Linked DNA regions of Homo sapiens: regions 1 and 3 are each linked to region 2. Evidence: promoter capture Hi-C in 16 types of primary human blood cells and fetal thymus (Javierre and others, 2016). All regions are on one chromosome and are shown on one strand. The core of a region is centred on a gene start or on the middle of the fragment in contact, and the rest is flanking DNA. Distances in the headings are between cores, read along the strand shown.

Region 1 (2,700 bases), core at 190-2,689, 460 kb before region 2:
TGGCTCACTGCAACCTCCGCCTCCCAAGTTCAAGCGATTCTCCTCTCTCAGTCTCCCAAGTAGCTGGGATTACAGGCACATGCAACCACACCCAGCTAATTGTTTGTATTTTTAGTAGAGATGGGGTTTCACCATGTTAGCCAGGCTGGTCTTGAACTCCTGACCTCAGGTGATCCCTCCGCCTCAGCCTCTCAAAGTGCTGGGATTACAGGTGTGAGCCACTGCGCCTGGGCATGTGTGTTCTTGAATAATAAGCCAAGGAGTTTGGATTTTAATTGCTTTAAATTAATATTTAAGCAAAAGCAAGACAAAGCTTGTCAGATGCTTTTATGAGCTTTATTTTATTGTGGTGGTGGTTTGTTTTCTTAGTGCTCTCAGGCAAAGGTAAGGGTGCCTTGTTTTTCATTAGCATGTCTAATCTGGGAAAGAAGGAAGAATGGAAAAATAAGCAGAAGTGGGCCGGGCGTGGTGGCTCACGCCTGTAATCTCAGCACTTTGGGAGGCCGAGGCGGGCAGATCACAAGGTCAGGAGATTGAGACCATCCTGGCTAACATGGTGAAACCCTGCCTCTACTAAAAATACAAAAAATTAGCTGGGCATGGTGGCATGCACCTGTAGTCCCAGCTACTCGGGAGACTGAGGCAGGAGAATCGCTTGAACCCGGGAGCCAGAGTTTGCAGTGAGCCGAGATCGCACCACTGCACTCCAGCCTGGGGAACAGCAAGACTCTGTCTCAAAAAAAAAAAAAAAAAAAAAAAAGCAGAAGTAAACTAAAGTTCATGTACCATTATTACTGGCACATGAACTTTAGTTATTTTTTCCCCTTCTCTCAAAAGTGTGTCATTGGTGGGATTTTCTTCCTACCAAATTAGAATATCCTGTGTCTAGGAAAGGTAACAAAGCAAGTATTCATAAAATCCAGGGCTCTTACTTAGTATTTCCTTAGTTCTGTGGTAGGCTGACCCTTTAATCTTGGTTGGAGTTTTCATAATTAATGCTTTGAAATATTTTGGTGAGCTCAAGTTGTATCTTAGGGATCAAAGATGTGGGTCTAATCTCTTACCAGAAATGATTCGAAGATGTATTGTTAGGAAAGAAATATGGGCTCATTATAGAAAATGTACAAAGTGTGTAAAGTTGTAGAAAAAAAGTAACCACCCTTAATTCCTCTACCCAGAGACAGCCATTGTTTTCATAAAATAGTTTTGTCTAGTACATTGTACTTTTAGAGTTTGCTCCTGAAAGCTTTTCTTTACAGACTAAGGACGTGTGAATTTGTCTATGCCCTTGTGTTTTCCAAGTCAAGAGTATTACCTGTGAGTCGGCTTGCTGTTAGGAAGGAGAGCAGGAGGAAGGAGATTAGCATTTTGCAGCTCTGCATTATTTTTCTCTTGATTGATACTCGGTGACTCAGCAGATTTTCTGGACAGGGTTAAGATAAGTAAGAATACCTGCCTTTTTTTTTTTTTTTTTTTCTTCTCTCCCTGTAGGCATCCATAAAGCTTTATGAGGCACAGTAGTCTCTTAGGCGCTGCTGGGTGTGACACCGTATCTGGTCTGGTGCCAGGTGTTGGTCTCCAATAGCAGCCCAGAGATCTCCGGCTGAGGTAACAACAGTGTGCGATTGGTGTGGAGCCCAGGTGGCTCTCATGCTTGGTAACTGCATTGACAGCTCGCTGGGGCTCTTGAGGTTGGGCTGCTGCCGGGATCATCAGCTCTCTTATGCCGTTTGCTGCAAGACTGCCGCGGCTTTCCTAGGAAGTGCTGCTTAAGGGAAATAAATATAGCCTGTTGGCATGAGTTAAAGGAACTTTCTGTCAAAGGGGAAGAAAAGTGTTGGAATTAGCTTCCTGTTTTTTTTTTTTTTAAGTACCTAAATCTTTATTTGGTTAAGATAACTTGGAAGTTACAAATGGTTAATGAAAACTTTTTCAATGAAATATTGTTTCCACAGTTAGGTGGGTTTCCGTTAATGCTTTCTTTTTTTTAGTTATTATTATACTTTAAGTTCTAGGGTACATGTACACAACGTGCAGGTTTGTTACATATGTATACGTGTGCCATGGTGGTGGGCTGCACCCATTAACTCGTCATTTACATTAGGTATATCTCCTAATGCTATCCCTCCCCCCTCCCTGTTCATGCTTTTTTTAATGTCTTACCGTTTTTCCCTCTCTTTTAGTCAAAAATAAAAAGGTCAACGCAAAGAAACAGGGACTCCAGAAGGCTTTGCAATGGTTAAACCTGTCATTATTAAACTCACAGACTAATGTGAAGTTAATTTGGTGCACTGAAGTCCACTAATGAGCAGAATTAAATTTATCCTTTTCCTCCCTGCCCCCCTTTTAAGGAGTTAGCCTATTTAGATAATTAGATGTTATATATGTTTTAACTATTTAAGATTATTTTATGAATTAGCTGTTCAAAGAATCAATTGTTACTAGATATCAGATGAGAACTTCCACTTACCAAAGCCTGCTCATGGAGGTAGAAAGCAAGACTGACATGTGTACTTTAAAAGATGGATGGAACCTCAAAGGCCGTCTTGCCCAGTCCCCATTTAGCCTCACCTCTCTGTAGGTGAGGCCCAGGAGAGACACTTACTAGGCAGACTATGCTGGGGCTGGGTGAGCTTCCCAAGGATGTTCTTTCTGGAATTCGGTGGCTCAGAATACAGCACTTGGCTCCTCTTTGAAGCA
Region 2 (2,700 bases), core at 103-2,602:
ATAACATCCTGTTCTTGTTTTGTATAGGTCATATTTTCACTTAATCTCTTTGAGGTTTATATTTTTTAAAAAACCACTCTTCTGTTTTTGTTTGTTTTTTACTGTTTGTTTTCACTGTATTTTTCTCTTTGTTTTTGTCTCTTTTATTCTATTTTATGTATGTATTTATTTATTTCCTAGAGACAAGGTCTCCCTATGTTGCCCAGATAGTTTCAAACTCCTGGGCTCAAGGGATCCTCCTGACCCGGCCTCCCAAAGTGCTAGGATTACAAGCATGAGCCACCACACCTGGCCTCTGTCTTTTATTTTAGAGGCTATACTTAAATATCTGGTAGTCTTTGGATATCTGTTCCTATTTAAGAGTCAAGCACTAACATGGTGAAACCCCATCTCTACTAAAAATACAAAAAATTAGCTGGGCGTGGTGGCACATGCCTGTAGTCCCAGCTACTCGGGAGGCTGAAGCAGGAGAATTGCTTGAATCTGGGAGGCGGAGGTTGCAGTGAGCCAAGATCATGCCACTGCACTCCAGCCGGGGCAACAGAGCAAGACTCAGGTGTCCCGACCTGACGAGTGCCATTCAAGTTGGATTTAGCCATGAAATAAGTTACAAAAAACTTTACATTTATCAGCACTTTGGGAATTTTGAAACTACAGATAAGGGATTATAGATATATAATGCTGAAATATTTACTATCATATTGGTTCTGATCCACAATATTGGAAAATATTAAAAGTGGAAAATATAGGGCCTGACCCTGGTGTTACAATCATTGGCTTCACTTGAGTTCTCAAGTGTACCCACTGTGGCAGCAGCAATCCTCAACACATTTGCTGTTAGCCAGATTTTTAATACAGACCTACATGGCCTTAACTCATTCTTGTTTTTCTTGGCACTTATTCTCTTTTTTAAAATTTGTTTAAATTTTACTTTAAGTTCTGGGATACATGTGCAGAATGCGCGGGTTTGTTACATAGGTATACACGTGCCATGGTGGTTTGCTGCACCTATCAACCCATCATCTAGGTTTTAGGCCCTGAATGCATTAAGTATTTTTCCTAATGCTCTCCCTCCCCTTGTCCCCCACCCGCCGACAGGCCACGGGTTGTGTTGTTCCCCTACCTGTGTCCATGTGTTCTCATTGTTCAACTCCCACTTATGAGTGAGAACATGCGGTGTTTGGTTTTCTGTTGCTGTGTTAGTTTGCTGAGAATGATGGTTTCCAGCTTCATCCATGTCCCTGCAAAGGACATGAACTCATTCCTTTTTATGGCTGCACAGTATTCCATGGTGTATATGTTCTTGGCACTTATTCTATCACCTGGGCTTTCTGACTCTTTTCTGACATCTTACCCCATTATGGAGACAAAGCTCAGGATTACAACATCTACATGTGGCTTAAGAGTAGTCTCTTGCCCCACTTTTCTGCCATGCAGTAATTGGTTAATATGTAATAATGATTAACAAGTGCATAGATTGTGCTCACAATAACCTTCCCATTCCTGGCCTTATGCCTGATTTTTGTAGCTGGCGGGTAAAGTCCTCTCAACATAGCCTCAAGGAACCAGACCTAGAGACTGCGGTACAAGACAGGAGTGAGACAGGAATCCAGACAAGGATTCCAGGCAGCAGCATCAACAAAGGAGATTGCTAATGACTCAGCCTCAGCCTGGAAGCTTTTCTATGCATGAAGGAAGGGCCAGTCATGAGACAGGGCAGAGAAAAGCCTGATAACCCCTCCCCTCATCACTAGGACTCCCCTCCCTCTGCCAACCCTGGGAATCACAGCAGGGCTGCCCTCACAGGTCACTGTCACTTACAGAGTGTGCCATATTTTGCAGTGAGCTGGGCTTCCCAAATGGTGAGAACCAGTTTCTGGTTCTAGCCACAGTGAGGTCCCATATATTTTCAGAGCGCACTGTCTTTTCACCTTGCACACCCTGACCCTGCTTCCTTGTCTCTTTTTTAACCCTTTGATCCAGACTGATGTCCTAAGGCATGCTGGGTCCTTGCTGCTATGGGGGTCTGTCAGCTCAGCCCCCAGACATAAACTGGAATGAATGTTCCAACAGTATCCTGCCTGTGCATGTGTGTATGAGCACAAGGAGGCTCTGATTTTTACATTTCCTCCTCATTTTCAGCTTATGTAGCCTACACTAGCAAAAGAGTCTTGGGGAGCTGAGGGGTCATAGGAAATGACCTGTTAGCCACATTTCTGTTCTCTGTGAAGAGGCCTGTTTTCAGTTTAGACATCATGGGGAAACCACTCTTCCCATCAAAGTGAGCTCCCCCAAGGATGAAATGGACACCATGCTATCTACTTGATATTATGAAGACTGAATGAAATAAAAAGAATCCAGCAAAGTGCCTGAAAAAATGTAGGCCGTCCATATTCCAAACTGGGAAAAAATGCTTAATGCAAAGATTACCACGTCACGTATAAAAACAAAATACTGGAAGCAACCTAAATGTCCACAGTGAGAGAATGATTTTCATATTATGCCTCTGTTGAAATTGGTAGCAATATAATAAATAGTCATTATGAAAAGCATGGAGCACCGTAGGAAAAATATTATAATGAAAACAGGGGGCAAAGCAAGATGCAAAATTGCATGTAAACTATGGAAAGATATGCATGTGAGAAAAGGTAGACAAATAACACCAAAATGAAAACTGTTAACATTATCAGAAAGCCCCAT
Region 3 (2,749 bases), core at 223-2,722, 300 kb after region 2:
CGACACGGGCTTTCGACTCGAATTCAGCCCTCCAGCCGGAGGCGGGTGGCCGCAAGCCTGGGGCCCCCGGCCGGCAACCGAATTGGTGGGCGCGGCGTTCGCCTCGCGGCTCCCGCGCACGGGCCTGTCCCGCCACCGAGGAGCCGGAGCTCCTCAGGGACGGGGACCCGCAGGCCCCGGGAAGCCGCCCCAACCGGAGCTGCCCGGCCCCCGAGCCTACCTGCCGCACCTGGGCGGCGGCCCGGCCTGGGTCCCAGCCGCTGGCCACCCGCGCGGGCAGGCCGGAGGGAACAAAGGCGTTCCGGGGAGGGGACGAGCCTCCTTCTCCGCCGCGCTTTCAGAGGGCGGGCTGCCGGGGCCCGCGGTGGGAGAGGCCTCCCCGGCTTCCCGACTTCCCGGCGCTGGGCCGTGCGCGGTCCGGGCCAGGGCGGCGGGCCCCGATCCGGTGTCCACGCCAGCCACGCGCCCCCGGCCCAAGCGCGCGTTCCCACCTGAAGTCCTGGCGCCACCCGCCGGGCGAGGGCCGGCGTGCCCTCACCTCCTCGCCACTCTTCTCCTCCAGAGACCTCGCTCGGCCCGGAGTGGGCAGACTCGGAGCCTCCCGCGCCGGAGACCGCGAGCCGCTCGGCCGAGGAGGCGCGGCGGGGCGGGGGCGGGGCGGAGGGGCCGGCCCGCAGCCCCCAATGCCGGGAGCCCGCGCTGGAGACCCAGGGAGCCCAGCTCGGGGCCGCGGCACGGAGAACGAACCATCCGTGGCCTGGAGACGTATCCCGCCGAGCGGCCAGAACTTTCCCCATTTAGCGATCCGGAAAGGAAGCCAACACTCCCACCCAGAGAGGCCTCGGCCGCGGAAAGATGCGGCCGCGGCACAGCCGTGTTTTCACCACGTAACTGACCACAGACTAACTCCGCGCGGAACCACCGGCCCAGGGCGCTCCGCCAAGAGGCGGACTGTGCTGGCCTCGCGGGCCCTACGCCCAGGGAACGCCGCGGTTCCTCCCACACGGGACACCGGTTCCGCAGCGCCGCGGATTAGGATGGTCTTTTACTTTCCGAGCGGGAGCTCTAACGCAGGCTCAGGCGGGTCTTGTTAAAAGGTTTCTGGTCACACCACTTATGCGTGGAGCTCTGGGGGCCTCAGTAACAAAGTAAGGAAACTTACAGCAAACTAGGGCTGCACTGCCGCTGTCCGTTTCTAAAATACGAGAAGAGGGGGAAACCCCGCCCCAGGCCAGCTTCCCAGTGACTTTACCTCCAAGTCCAGCTTCATTTCAAGGGCAGTTTAGAGCGAAACTCACGAAGTTCAAGCCCAGCTCTTTAAATGTCCAAATCGGAGGTCGGCTTTCCTTCCCGCATCGGAGCTAAAGTCGCTGGTCTCAAGAACAAAACTTGCGGGCTTTAAATCTTGGGCGAGGACTGGACGGGCAGCGCTGGACTGGGCTCGCTTCCCCGGCGGGATGCGGGCTGTATGCGGGCGGGATGGGGGCGGGCCCGGGCGGGGGCGCGAGGCTCCCAGCCGCGCGCCCCGCACTCTCGGCGTCACGGCCCGAGCCCGGCCCCGCCCGCCAGCCGCCACCCTCCCGGCGCGTAGGTGAAGGTGATGGGCCCCGCCCCAGTTTGTTCTTGTCTGTAGATGAGAATTCCAGGAAGTGTTTCCCTGCCGCTCGTCAGTTAATTGCGATCACTTACTCAAATGGCCAACTGGAAGCCAGAGTGCACATGAATGTCCTCTTTGAGCTATTTTCCTCCTTTAGAATACTTCATGCAGGTAACCAGACAATATCGAGAGATGCGGACTTCTACTCAACGAGAGAGATTATAAATGAATCCTGGATGCGCTTGATTTCTTGTTTCCCGCATGTTGTTAGACCTCTCCCTAAAGCCACAAAACATTTAACGGAGATAATATTTTGAGCGATTCTGTTATTGTACATATTTCAGAACATGACAGAAAAGCAAAAGATTAACCCAAATACTTTAGTAAAATAAAAGCTTTGAGTTTGTCGTAAAAGGAACAAGACAGGTAATGAGTTAAATGTATGATTGTCGAATCAGGGTTTAAAACAGTGGGGCCAGCAGACACGGTGGCTCACACCTGTAATCCCATCACTTTGGGAGGCTGAGCCGCAGGAGGATTGCTTGATCCCAGGAGTTAGAGACCAGCGTGGCCAACATAGCAAGACCCCATCTCTAAAAGAAAAAACACACACACAAAATGAAAACTGTTGTTCATTCAAACTAGATTTTTAGGAAGTTTTTAAATTGCTTTCCTTAAGCTGGTCAGCATCTTTTAAATCATGCAGTTCTTTTCATATGCTGCCTACACAGGGCATGGCTCAGCATCTCCCAGACTGTGGCACTGCATGTTCATCAGACCACAGACAGAAATATTTACATGTGTGATTTGCAAAGGAGTCATTGACAGTGACCCACAAATAAGCTGATTCATTGTTAATACAGCACTAATGACATACCTTCTCTAATAAAATGCTGACTGAAATCCCACATGCATTTCCCCCAGCCATCACATGTGTATGTTGTATATCTGTGCAAATATTCAATTACAATTATATTCCTTTCAGATCATTTGGAGCTAGGTCCATGTGTCAGTATACATATGTTCCACATACATGAGCACATAGAACTGTACCCACGAGAAATACAAACTGACCAAAACAGTGGTAGACACACATACAAATCACATATTCACATCATACTAGATACAGATAAACACACCAGATAGATAAAT

What was found. Contacts are between HindIII fragments. The CHiCAGO score rates a contact against its expected background, and 5 or more counts as called.
Region 1: a contact is called between the fragment with the promoter of ABCC5-AS1 here and the fragment with the promoter of KLHL6-AS1 in region 2, in 6 of 17 cell types (M0 macrophages, erythroblasts, megakaryocytes and 3 more). The highest score is 8.6, in M0 macrophages.
Region 3: the fragment with the promoter of B3GNT5 here is called in contact with the fragment with the promoter of KLHL6-AS1 in region 2 in 2 of 17 cell types (M2 macrophages and activated CD4 T cells); the score reaches 6.6 in M2 macrophages.

The regions. Positions count from the first base shown.
Region 1 is chr3:184,005,077-184,007,776 of GRCh38, reverse strand. It overlaps ABCC5-AS1 (ABCC5 antisense RNA 1), which reads right to left and starts at 1,439. Exons shown (of 3, transcript NR_046570.1): 1 at 1,316-1,439. All of the region lies in intron 2 of ABCC5 (ATP binding cassette subfamily C member 5), which reads left to right. RefSeq lists a silencer at 711-760. The HindIII fragment of the contact is 257 bases long and covers 1,249-1,505 here.
Region 2 is chr3:183,547,387-183,550,086 of GRCh38, reverse strand. KLHL6-AS1 (KLHL6 antisense RNA 1) reads right to left here and starts at 1,352. Exons shown (of 2, transcript NR_046687.1): 1 at 1,124-1,352. The region is part of intron 1 of KLHL6 (kelch like family member 6); the gene reads left to right. The HindIII fragment of the contact is 1,687 bases long and covers 1-1,679 here.
Region 3 is chr3:183,251,976-183,254,724 of GRCh38, reverse strand. B3GNT5 (UDP-GlcNAc:betaGal beta-1,3-N-acetylglucosaminyltransferase 5) reads right to left here and starts at 1,472. Exons shown (of 2, transcript NM_032047.5): 1 at 1,253-1,472. All of the region lies in intron 15 of MCF2L2 (MCF.2 cell line derived transforming sequence-like 2), which reads left to right. LOC124906310 (a long non-coding RNA gene) reads right to left here. Exons shown (of 3, transcript XR_007096189.1): 3 at 2,170-2,190. The HindIII fragment of the contact is 12,746 bases long and covers 1-1,994 here.